3 separate regions of the Homo sapiens genome follow, and all the other regions are linked to region 3. The links are contacts of gene promoters, found by promoter capture Hi-C in blood cells and fetal thymus (Javierre and others, 2016). All regions are on one chromosome and are shown on one strand. The core of a region is centred on a gene start or on the middle of the fragment in contact, and the rest is flanking DNA. Distances in the headings are between cores, read along the strand shown.

Region 1 (3,717 bases), core at 500-2,999, 700 kb after region 3:
GAATTAGTTGTTTTGGCAAATTCATAGATCTTGTTCAGACCAGGTGCAATTCAGCATGTCAGAGGTGTCCTAAGAAAGCATATACTTTGGCAGAGGTTTTAAGGTGTATTTTTCCCTCTATGGGCAAAGGCATCTTTCATAAACAGGTTGGTCTGGGCTCCTGCCACTCTGTGTCTCGTTTCCAAGCTCACTCTTCAATTTCCATCCAACATTTCTTGAATAAATTTCGTTCTCTTGGAAGTAGGTATTTCAGAGCTAGAAAAAGTAATCCTGAGTTAGAGTTGCTGTGTGTGAGTACTTACAATGTGCCAGGCACTGTCCTAGTTGCTGGGCATTCAATGGCAAAAACAGCAGATGGAATTCTGCCTTCCTGGGCCCATGTTCTAGTGTGTACGGGGATGAACACATAAGGAAATAGATGTGTATTATAATGTCAGGCAGCTGGGAAGATGTGGGGAGAGTGGCTGTTATAGATCTGAAGGTATGGTAATGAGCCACACAGATGTTTTGTGGAAGAACATTCCAGGCAATATGAAGCAAGAATATAGGCCCTGAAATGGGTTTGAGGAGTAGAAGGGAGGTATGTGTGGCAGGAGTAGAGAGAGTGAGAGAAGAATAGAAGGATTTGAGGTTGTGGAGGTGCAAGAGGCCAGATGTTGCAGGGTCTTGCAGCCTGGAAATAAACTTATGAACTGTTCACCATGTCAGATTCCATGAAATAGACCCCAGTGAGCTGGAATTGCTATTGCTATTCCCCTTATGATGTATCTTTTCCACTGCAATCCTTTATTGTCATAGTTGGGAATTGGGAGGTCTTGGGGATGGGTCCTTAAGCTATGTGGTATGTGGCTTTAATTCACTAATTAACTTTATTCCATGGTACTTGATCTGGATTACAGGCACAGACCAGAGGGCCATTTGTTTTTTCAAGACATATTATTGAGCACTTATTATGTGCAAGGCACTATACTAGGCACTGGGATATGGTTGTAAACAGACTAATGCTGGCCCCAGGGTTCATTTCTCTCCATTCCCTTAAATGGACCTTTGCCCCAGACCAACATGTCTGCTTGGGTCTTTGTCTACCTTACACCATTATCCTTGCTTTCTCCAGAATAGGGGGAAGATCAGAGCCAATTCCCATCTATAAAGTAGAAATAATATTTCAAAAAAATGAAATAATGTATGTGAAGTACTGAGCAGAATGCCTGGCACATAGTAAGTTAAGTGCTTCTGATTACGATTGCCTGTGAATTAATGGTATTTATTATATATGTCACTCATCTGATAGTTAATTATGTCTTATGCTGTATCTTGCATTATTTGCTTTGCATACATTTATGCTGTCGCTCCCTCAATTAGATTGTAAGTCTGTTGAAAGGAGCAACCTCATTTTATTTTTTCCAACTCTGCACACAGCAGGCTCTCAATAAATATCTGTAATATGTTTACTCTCTGACCTTTTATTCTAACAATCTCTTTTTAAATTAATTAGCAGTCTTAGCAGAAAAATGCATACATTTTACGGATTTATCTGTCACTTTTGTATGTAGTAAAAATGAAAACTTTGATGCAGCTCCCCTCACATACTTGAATCAAACATTTTAGATTCACTTTCTAAAGGTCAATTTTGGAAAGGAATTGTTGACACTCTCTTTTGGCCAACATGGAAGTGGTTCCAGAAACTATTTTGCAGTAGAAAATGGAAGCTCTACTAGCAAGCAAATGTAGATGGATATGGTGACAGTTTACCTAGACATGTCCCTGGGCAGTAAAAAGTAGCTACCTGATGCTTAGTTTTTTGAACTTTGCCCTTTTTTTGTTGTGCCTTCTGAAGTTCTCGGCTCTATTGAGAAGTATCCTTTATGGGTATTGAACTTTAAATCTAAATCTAACTTCAGTTAAAATTTTTAAAATGGACAATTAAATGAGAGTCAAAACGGTAATCAAATCACACAACATTGTTTAAAGTGGAAAATTATACCAGGTATGAAAAAGAAAAGTTTCATAGCTATAGGGCAGGCAATGCCTTAAAAGTCTAGAATATAAATTTTGTTTCCTTGTTTGAATTCTATTTAATGTGATGACAATATGACATAAAGAAAAAAGTCAAAAGTCTCATTGATAACCCATACACGGCCACTCCACTGGCCATAGATGTCTTGCACAGTGTGTCTTTGTGTCAGCCTGAAGGGGCAACCTGCCCCATATGCTTTTTGGCAGAACAAGGACACTGTATGGCTTTAAGTATTCCCTGATCGAATGTGGGAAAAGAAGCAGTTAGCCAAGTTCTGAACACAGTATTTATTGTGCTGACGCCAGCAGGTGAGGGGGGAAATGGGGAGGAACAGAACTCCCACACAACTTCTGCCTTGTTCTACTTTCTGGTGGATGTAAGTTAAGAAGGTTGACAAAGATACTTCTGGGTAAATGATGTAAGGAAGATCCAGGGCTTCAAGTTTAGGATCTGCAGCAAATGCTGTGTGTGTGTGTGTGTGTGTGTGTGTGTGTGTGTGTGTGTAAAATGAACTTCCTAGCAGCAGCTAGTGCCACTGAAGAGCAACCAAAATAATATGTGACCATTTAGATTACAAATGAGTTTGGTTTGCTATTAGCCCCTTGCCCTAAATTAGAAAATCTAGTCTTCTTCTTCTTTTTTTTTTTTAAGGGAATGAGCATGTACAAAAAGGGGATCTATAGAAGCCAGAAATGGTTGGGCCCCCAACACCATTTCAAACAATAATCCCAACAGACATTTCTCTTTCTAAAGAACACCACCAAAAAAGAATTAAAAACCTACATGGAAAGCATACTCTATTTTTGGCTTCTTAGGGGTTGCGCTCCCAGGAATTTCCTTTCCATTCCTGGATCTTTTAAGTCCTTGTCTGAATGGCTGTCTCTACTTCCTAATTTCTCCTCTTCTGAATCTACTTTGGTTTTACTTCTAATCCTTCCATTCCACTAAACCTGTTCATATCAAATTCAATAGTCCCTTCTTATTTCTTATATTACTTAACTTCTCAGAGGCATTTGACCCAGTACATTACTGTCTTTTAAAAATATGCTCTTTGCTTAGCTTTGAGGATGCCTGAGCCACTTGGTGTCCCTTCTAGCTCACCGACTGTTCTTTCTTGGTCTCCTTTACTGGCTTCTTTTCCTCTGCCCGACCCATAAATATTGTCCTGTTACAAAACTCTTCCCTCCAATATTCTAGCTTTTTTTTTTTTTTCCCCTGCAAAGGGAATCTCATCGAGTCTCATGGCTTTAAATATCATCTACACATTGATGGTTCCAAATTTCTATCTTAGTCTGAGCCTCTCCATTGAACTTCAGACTCTACTCAGCCTCTTCAGTATCTTCAGTTGGTATCTAATAGGTATCTCAATCCTAACACAGAACTCTCGAGCAATGTCTGAAAAAAACTGTTCTTCCTAAATTCTTCTCTATGTCTGAAAATTGTTTCACCATCCACTCAGGTACTTAAGCCAAACACTTCTGAGTCATCTTTGTCACTTTGCTTTCTCTAACTCCTTCCAACTCATTTAACCATCAACAAGTTCTTTCAGTTCCATCTCAATCCATTCACTTCTCTCCATCTCCTTTGCTATTATTATAGCCCATGCATCCAGCACCTTTTTCCCGAACAATCAAATAGTTTCCTAACTAGACTTCCTACTTCCACTTTTGCCTTCCTTCAATTAACTACCAAAACAATTA
Region 2 (3,910 bases), core at 39-2,538, 560 kb after region 3:
CACCGGATCAATAATTGTTTCCCCAACCAAAGAATAAATCACATTGGGTGTTCTGAATTGTGAGTCAGCTCCATTGAATAAATAATTATCCATATCTATTTTTGTAACTTATAAAATTGCCTTTTAAAATTCCAGAGCCAGTTAATAGATATGGTTTCCCATCTACAGAGTTATATCTTGGTAGCTTAATGATTAAGGGCGTGGGCTCTTGCGTGGATTCAAACCCCAACTCTTCTCTTTTTCCGTGGGTGATAGTGGGTAAGTTCTTAATTTCATGCACCTAAGCATCTTCATCTGTATAAGAGATTAATTATAATGCCTGCCTCTGCCGGGCGCTGTGGCTCACGCCTGTAATCCCAGCACTTTGGGAGGCCGAGGGGGGTGGATCACCTGAGGTCAGGAGTTGGAGACCAGCCTGGCCAACATGGTGAAACCCCGTCTCTACTAAAAATACAAAAATTAGCCAGGCGTGGTGGCGGGCTCCTGTAATCTTACCTACTTGGGAGGCTGAGGCAGGAGAATTGCTGGAACCCGGGAGGCGGAGGTTGCAGTGAGCGGAGATCGCACCATTGCATTCCAGCCGAGACCCGCAGCAGCAAGACTCAGTCAAAAAAAAAAAAAAGAAGCCTGCCTCTTAGGACGGTTGTGATGATTAAATGAAGTGATGCATTTATAAGGTGCTTAATGGAGATCCTTGCTTAAAGTAAGTGTTCAGAAATGTTAATTATTAGAATTTTTGAATGTTGTTCAGTAATAGTTTGAAAGCGAATCCACTGCCAACTTTGCTCATCTGCTTTTTTTTTTTTTTCTGAGTGGGAGATGGGAGGTTTATTTTTGTTAATGTGATTTTTCGATAGACTCCAAAATTTGGCAAGTGAAAAAATATAAACAGTAATATGATAACCCATACTTTACTAGTTGAAAGGTAGTGTGGCATAATGGCAAGAAAATTAGGTTAAAGTGGAAAATGGGGGTTGTAGTCTTCACTCTGCTGCTCAAATAAGCTTTCCCTAACATTAGTAGCAACACATAGAAATATTGAAAATGACCTGCTGAATTGCGGGTTCTACCCAATTAGCAAATATAAAATGTTCCATGTAACTCATGTCATAATAACTTTTGAAACAAGCCCATTTTAAGACCCTAAATGCTAAAATGCTACCTTCTCCATGAGTCATTCACTGATCGTATCAATCAGTTGTGATCTACCTTTCCTTACTCTATGGAACATGCTAGCTTTCTGTGGCATTTGTTAAGACTGAATTGATGTATTACCTCTTTTGCTGTATTTATTATTGGCTCCTTGGGGGAAGAAACTCTATTTTCTTTATATATATATATATATATATATATATACACACACACACACACACACACACGCGCATGTATGTATGTATGTATGTATGTATGTATTAAGTTCCACCTAGGCCCATCCTAGGCAAATTTCAGGAGTCCTTTGAAAATATGTGGTGACTGGAATGTGTAAGGTGGAGAGGGAGCTCCCTAGATCCCCTGCCTCATCTGTACTTCCAAATCTTCTGGATGTTCCAACATTTGAAATACAGAAGCTTTGACTATCTAATGATTTTGGGATGTAGAGACTAAGAAAGTTGGAATATTATATATATATATATGTATATATGCAAACACACATATATGTATATATATATACACATATATATGTATATGTATATATTTCTCCATAGAGCCTACCATAGAGAAAATAGAAATGAACCAACACATCAGGAATAAGTCAGAAAAGTTTAGCTTAATTTTTCTAGTTTAGAATGGGTTGCAAGTTTATCTTCCAGTTTATAGATGTTAGCATTTTTTTCAAAGAATTCTAGTAGGTTTAGAGTGCATCTTTCAATGAGAAACTAAATGAACTTGTCATGATTTCATCTTTAAAAAGTGAATGTGTTTCACAGTTGTATTCACAGTCTTATTCTTCAGATACCATCCAACTGAGAAACAGAATTCATCAAATATTTGCTCAGAAAATATTCATTTTTGCTTACTACTTGGATGTGGGATCATTCATACACCACATGTCAGCAACATGCAATTTACTCATGTAGCAAACTTGCACATGTACCCCCCAAGCCCAAAATAAAAGTTGGGAAAAAAGAGAATATTTATTTTCTGATAGATCAAGGATTTATTTAATATATATTTTAAGACTGCCTGGAAAACCAAAATAGAGAAACAAACTACATTATTTTGTCATACTAACAAAGAAAGTAACACTGGAATTCATTAAAAATACCCTGATTTGGAAGAGAAATGCATATGTACCTGGGCAGCTGAAAAAAAATCAGAAGCTACCGGTTTATGTACATAAAGATCTTAAAATGAGTGATACATTGATTTTTTTAGGTTGAAAACAGCTTCACTCATTAATTCATTCTAAAATATTTAAGTACTTACAAAACATCAGCTGCTGCAAGTCTAGGCACTAAGGAGAGCAAAGACAAATAAGAGACTCTCCTTTTGCCTTGGAGCTTACAGTCTCAAAGGAGAGACTAGCAGAGGATTGAAATCTAGTGTATGTTATTGGCAATATTGCTCTGGCATTGGAATCTCACTTGATTATTTTAGTTACTATCACCGGCATATTATAACAACAAAATATTATGGTGTTGCTCCCATATCACAGCAAATGTTTATAAGTGGTTTGGCTAATCTATGGAGTCCTTTGTTCCAGCCCTATTATTTAACTCTCTCGATATTCTTACCTCTGTTTAGGCCATGCTTTTTGTCTTTGAATCAAATTCACCAACTGCTGAAATTTCAGCTTGCTCTCATTTCCATGAATATTTATTTAAAAATGCTACATACATATTTCACCTATACAAGGTGAAATATAAATTAGAAATTGAAGAGCAGTAGAGAAATAAAACAGAAATACTCTGGCCTGTAGGTCAACAAAGTTTTTATATTTCTGCTACAAATTTGGCTTTGAATTTACTGATGGTTGGAATAAAAAAGGATACAGGCTTAACTACTTAGTTTATTTATTTATTTTTGTAAAAGAGGAGAAAACATACAAGTTTCTCAGGAGGAACCATGTTCCCTAACTCTAACTTCTTAATTTTTCACATTAAGATTCATATAGGAGGCACTGGATAATTTAATAGGCAATTTCCTCAATATTAGCCTGAGAGTAAAGGTGGAAATGAGCTTTTTAAGACACTTTCGAAGTATCTCTATGAAAAAGGCTAGATTGGATCAGAAATGGCAATCATAATGAATCATGATCTAGGCCCCTGCTTTTCAAAGTGTGGTCTCTGCACCAGCAACATGGGCATCGCCTGCGGGCTTGTAAAAATGCAGTCTCAGACTCTATCCCATAACTGCTAAATCAAAGTCTGCATTTTAACAACATTACCAGGTGATTCATGTGCATATAAATGTTTGAGAAGCATTGATCTTCTGTGTAGAAAGCTTTTAGAGCTTTTTATTTCTTTCCTTTGCCTTTTTAAGATTATCAGTAATTACACATTTATTTATTCAAGAAATACTTGAGCACCAACTATGTCCTGAGGTCTATGAGAAAACTAGGAATAAACAAAACAGATTGGCCCCTGACCTTAGAGGACTTATAGTTTAAAAGGGAAATAGGTAATACATTGAGTAAATTACCTATACATAAAATTGTAATAAGTGCGAAGAAACACAAATCTATGATATCGATTTTAAAAGTGAGTGGGAGGTGCTTCAGTTACAGTGATTGAGGACAGTCGCTGAGTAGATAAGATAAAAGTGAGAACTGAAGGGCTAACATTTTAATGTACCCTTCAGGTCTCACTTTTATTTTATTTACTCAGCGACTGTCCTCCATCAAAATGTTAGCTGTGGGTGGCTGGGCATGATGGCTCACGCCTGTAATCCCAGCACTTTGGGAGGCCGA
Region 3 (3,722 bases), core at 95-2,594:
GCCACCACTTCACAGTGGTTCCATTTCCAATATATTTTGCCACTTTGCTGCTGAGAATGTGTCTTACTAGGTTAGCATCTATAGTGGTTAAAAGAATCTCCCATAACAATAATTGTGTGAATCACAGAATTACCAATGACCCCTTATCAATAGCATTCCTGTTAATTAAATTGAGATGGGGAGAGATACAAACAACTCCGAACCTCACTCATGGTCCCCCACCAAAGCTAAGTATTATGGCTTCTCTCTCTGACCAGATAGAGGCAGAGTTTATTGCAAAGCCACAAGTGTCCTCCTTTGGATTCCCCCAAATAGTGTTTCAGTGAATTCCTCTAGCTTGAATTGCTCCTCTCTATTTGCTGGGGGAGTTAGGCAGTCCGTATCCGATGGATTTACTATGCCGACAATTACGTGGCCTTTCCACAGCCTTTTACTTGGCAGGTACCACATATGAAGCTTAGAAGATACAGTGGGCAACAGGCCAAATGGAGTCCCTTTCCTCAGAGTGCATGGCCTGGCAAAAATCCTTGAATTCAGTATCAACTTCCCTTCACAGGCAAGGCTCTGCACCCTCCCCACGGATGCCTAATCCTGAAACCATTTTGTTTTAGGTTTAGTTAGAAAGCTTTGTCTCAAGAGCACTTTTGTTTGTTCTGTTTTCTTTAAGTCAAGGTAGTTTTGAATAAAGGAGACAATATTTGAGTATTTACAAATCGGGTATTTAGACTATTTACACATATACAAGTTCTGGGTGAAGTATTCTGCTCCAATTTGCAATCTACGCACACTTTGCTAGAAAACGTTAAGACTGAATTCAAATCAAGTACAGTATTTCAGAAATCTTTCAGGTGAAGCCTAGTTCTGGTTGCTAGGCAACCTGACAGACTCCCAAGCTGGGACCACCTCGCCTCCCACATTTGACCATCTCTCCAGCGGTGGGACGCGGAGTACCCATTGGCCCGCATCTCCTCTCACTTAGTCCCAATTGGTCGGAGAACCTCTCACTCCGCTCCCGTTGGCTCTCGCCGTATCTCGCAGCTCCGTCATTGGCAACTGGGCTCTCGTGCCACCTCACGTCAGTCTCTCACACCACTTCCTCGGCCCTGAGACTTTGTCCCCGCCTCTTCTCCCCGCCCTTCCAGCCACGAGGGAAAATCCTAGCGAGTCATCGCCTCTAGTTTCCTTTTGATTGGTAGAAGCCGGACTGGGGGGCGGGCGCTGCCGGGCAACTCTACCGGCCGCGATTGGCTGTGGGAGCCACCGTCCCGCCTCCCAGCGACTCTCGGCGGTGCCGGAGTCGGGTGGGTTGGCGGCTATAAAGCTGGTGGCGAAGGGGAGGCGCCGCGGACTGTCCTTTCGTGGCTCACTCCCTTTCCTCTGCTGCCGCTCGGTCACGCTTGGTGAGTGTCCCGCGCTGGGGAGTAGAACTGGGCTGCGGAGGTGCCGCGGGCGGGGTGTGGGCCAGACAGAGGCGGTGTCCTTGACTAGGCCCGAAGGAGCTGGGGCTCTGGGTCAGGACGTAGGCGTGGACTTTGCCCGGGAGGATGGGGCACCGTGAGCGGGGCCGGGCGGGGGTTCCCTCGTGAGGGACCTGAGGCCGACCGTAGCGGATCTGAGAAGATCCGAGAACACAGGCGAGTCGCGGAGGGGAGAACGCGAGAGGGCGTTGAGGTCTAGGTATTCTAACGACAGAGGAGTTGGAGGTGCCAGAGAGGCAGCTGTGACCGCCTAGAGGTGAGTGGGGGGTGTCAGGAGGGGGAGAGAAGACAGTTGGGCTACCAAGGCGTTTCCAGAGCGTTGGTTAAGGGTGGACGCCAAAGGATGGGCAAGATCCTCTTTAGACGGAGGCTGGTAGGTTCGCAGGGGGTGTGTCCTGCTGCCACATATAGAGTTGATGGAAAGAAGGGAAGTGGGTAGCATTACTTTTCTTCCTCAGCTCAGGTGCAAGAAAGCGTTCACAACCGTGATTTAGACCTGGCTAAGTACTGGGGCTCAGTCTGTACTTGCTTCAAATCTCATAGATCACTGCCTCCCGCCTTCCTGCCTCCATATTTTTTTTTGTCTACGTTTTAAAAAATAGGCTTCCTTGGTGTTCTGAAATCCCACATCTCTCTCCTACTAATACCTTCGGGACCAGCTTTAGGTGATACAGTGTAATGGGCAGGCACTCACAGAGTCCTCCCACAAATAGGTTTTGGATTAAGCTAAGGATATTTCAAAGCAAGTATATGGAGTCTTTGAAAACCCACGTCTGGCCTTGACCAGTGGTAGAGAAACGATTATTCTGATCCACTCTGGAGGAGGGATTTGGGGAACAAATAATGTGAGGTTGTGCCTGTTTGTCATGCTTGTCCCTATGGCCTTAGCCTTAAGGCATCAGTAGCTGCTTTCACTGCTCACCTCTGCTGCAGCTCCCCACCTTCCCGAGGATGCTCTTGCCACCTGCTGCAGTAGGATGATGTGTTCTGGTTGCTGCTAACTAACATTTGCTCTGTTTTAGGCATGAATATGAAAAACAATGACAAGATAAACAACAAAATTAAGACAAATGGAAGTGCTCCTAGAGTTAACAGATTTTTCCTTCTGAGATGTGTTTTGGACTTTATTGCACAGATACTATTAGATGAGAGGCAGTTGAAAGTCGTTAACATTATCCGTGTCAGTAGTTCTTTGCACTTGAGACACCTAAGCAGCTTGTGTTCTTTAAACTTTATTTTAAAATTGCAGTTATTTTTGTGTGAAGAAGGGGGCAGGGATAGCATACCTTATGGGAAGAGAGAAAGGCTTTCTTTGTGTCTACCTTTGTAGATATTTCTCACCTAAGTTTGTAAGTTTGCCCTTTATTCGGTTCTACTTTAGTTCAGCTCAATTCTAGTATAATCATCAGTAACCCCAGCACTCAGAAGGTCTGACTTACGCTGTGGGGAGGGAGTGTAAAAGGATATTTTATGTTTGGAGCCATAGGCCACATCATTTGGGCCTTGTTTTAATTTTGTTTTTCATCTTAAATATCCCTCCAGATTGCTTTTACATCTTGTTTCTTTTAACTGTGGATTGATTTTGAGATTTTGACTTAGATTTTAGATAGCTTTTCTCAGAAGAAATAAACGCAAAAACCCGATATTGTTGTAACATCAGTTTCCTGTGTCCTCTAGAATCATTTAAAACCTGGTTGGATCTTCCATAATCCAGTGGAATTGGATATGAGATGTAGCTGGAGAAGTTTGTTTTGCTACATATCAGAATCTCCAATTAGTTTCATTTAGAAAGGAATATAGCCTTATAATTTTATGCTGGGTTACTGTGGAACCAAATATCATAGAAGGATGTGTGATATTTTTATGTTTTTCAAGAAGGTAGTATAGATTTAAAAGGTGGGATACATATTACCTGTCCTAATGATAGGACTAGATTTTTTTTTTTTTTTTTTTTTGGGGAGACAGAATCTCGCTCTGTCGCCCAAGCTGGAGTGCAGCAGCGTGATCTCGGCTCACTGCAACTTATGCCTCCCAGTGATTCTCCTGCCTCAGCCTCCCAAGTAGCTGGGACTACCGGCATGTGCCACCACACCCAGCTAATTTTTTTGTATTTTTAGAAGAGATGGGGTGTCACCATGTTGGTCAGACTGGTCTTGAACTCCTGACCTCAAATGATCCGTCCGCCTTGGCCTCCCAAAGTGCTGAGATTACAGGCGTGAGCCACCATGCCTGGCTAGAACTAGA

The links. Contacts are between HindIII fragments. The CHiCAGO score rates a contact against its expected background, and 5 or more counts as called.
Region 1: a contact is called between a fragment that was not itself captured here and the fragment with the promoter of HMGCS1 in region 3, in 1 of 17 cell types (total B cells). The highest score is 6.0, in total B cells.
Region 2: a contact is called between a fragment that was not itself captured here and the fragment with the promoter of HMGCS1 in region 3, in 2 of 17 cell types (non-activated CD4 T cells and naive CD8 T cells). The highest score is 7.5, in non-activated CD4 T cells.

What each region holds. Positions count from the first base shown.
Region 1 is chr5:42,616,190-42,619,906 of GRCh38, reverse strand. The region is part of intron 2 of GHR (growth hormone receptor); the gene reads right to left. Among named protein-coding and RNA genes, the nearest start is that of CCDC152, 140 kb to the left of the region's middle. The HindIII fragment of the contact is 4,544 bases long and covers 1-3,717 here.
Region 2 is chr5:42,752,732-42,756,641 of GRCh38, reverse strand. No RefSeq gene overlaps it. Among named protein-coding and RNA genes, the nearest start is that of CCDC152, 2.1 kb to the left of the region's middle. The HindIII fragment of the contact is 564 bases long and covers 1,007-1,570 here.
Region 3 is chr5:43,311,034-43,314,755 of GRCh38, reverse strand. It overlaps HMGCS1 (3-hydroxy-3-methylglutaryl-CoA synthase 1), which reads left to right and starts at 1,344. Exons shown (of 11, transcript NM_001098272.3): 1 at 1,344-1,400. RefSeq lists enhancers at 1-431, 432-948, 955-1,184, 1,435-1,574. The HindIII fragment of the contact is 3,835 bases long and covers 628-3,722 here.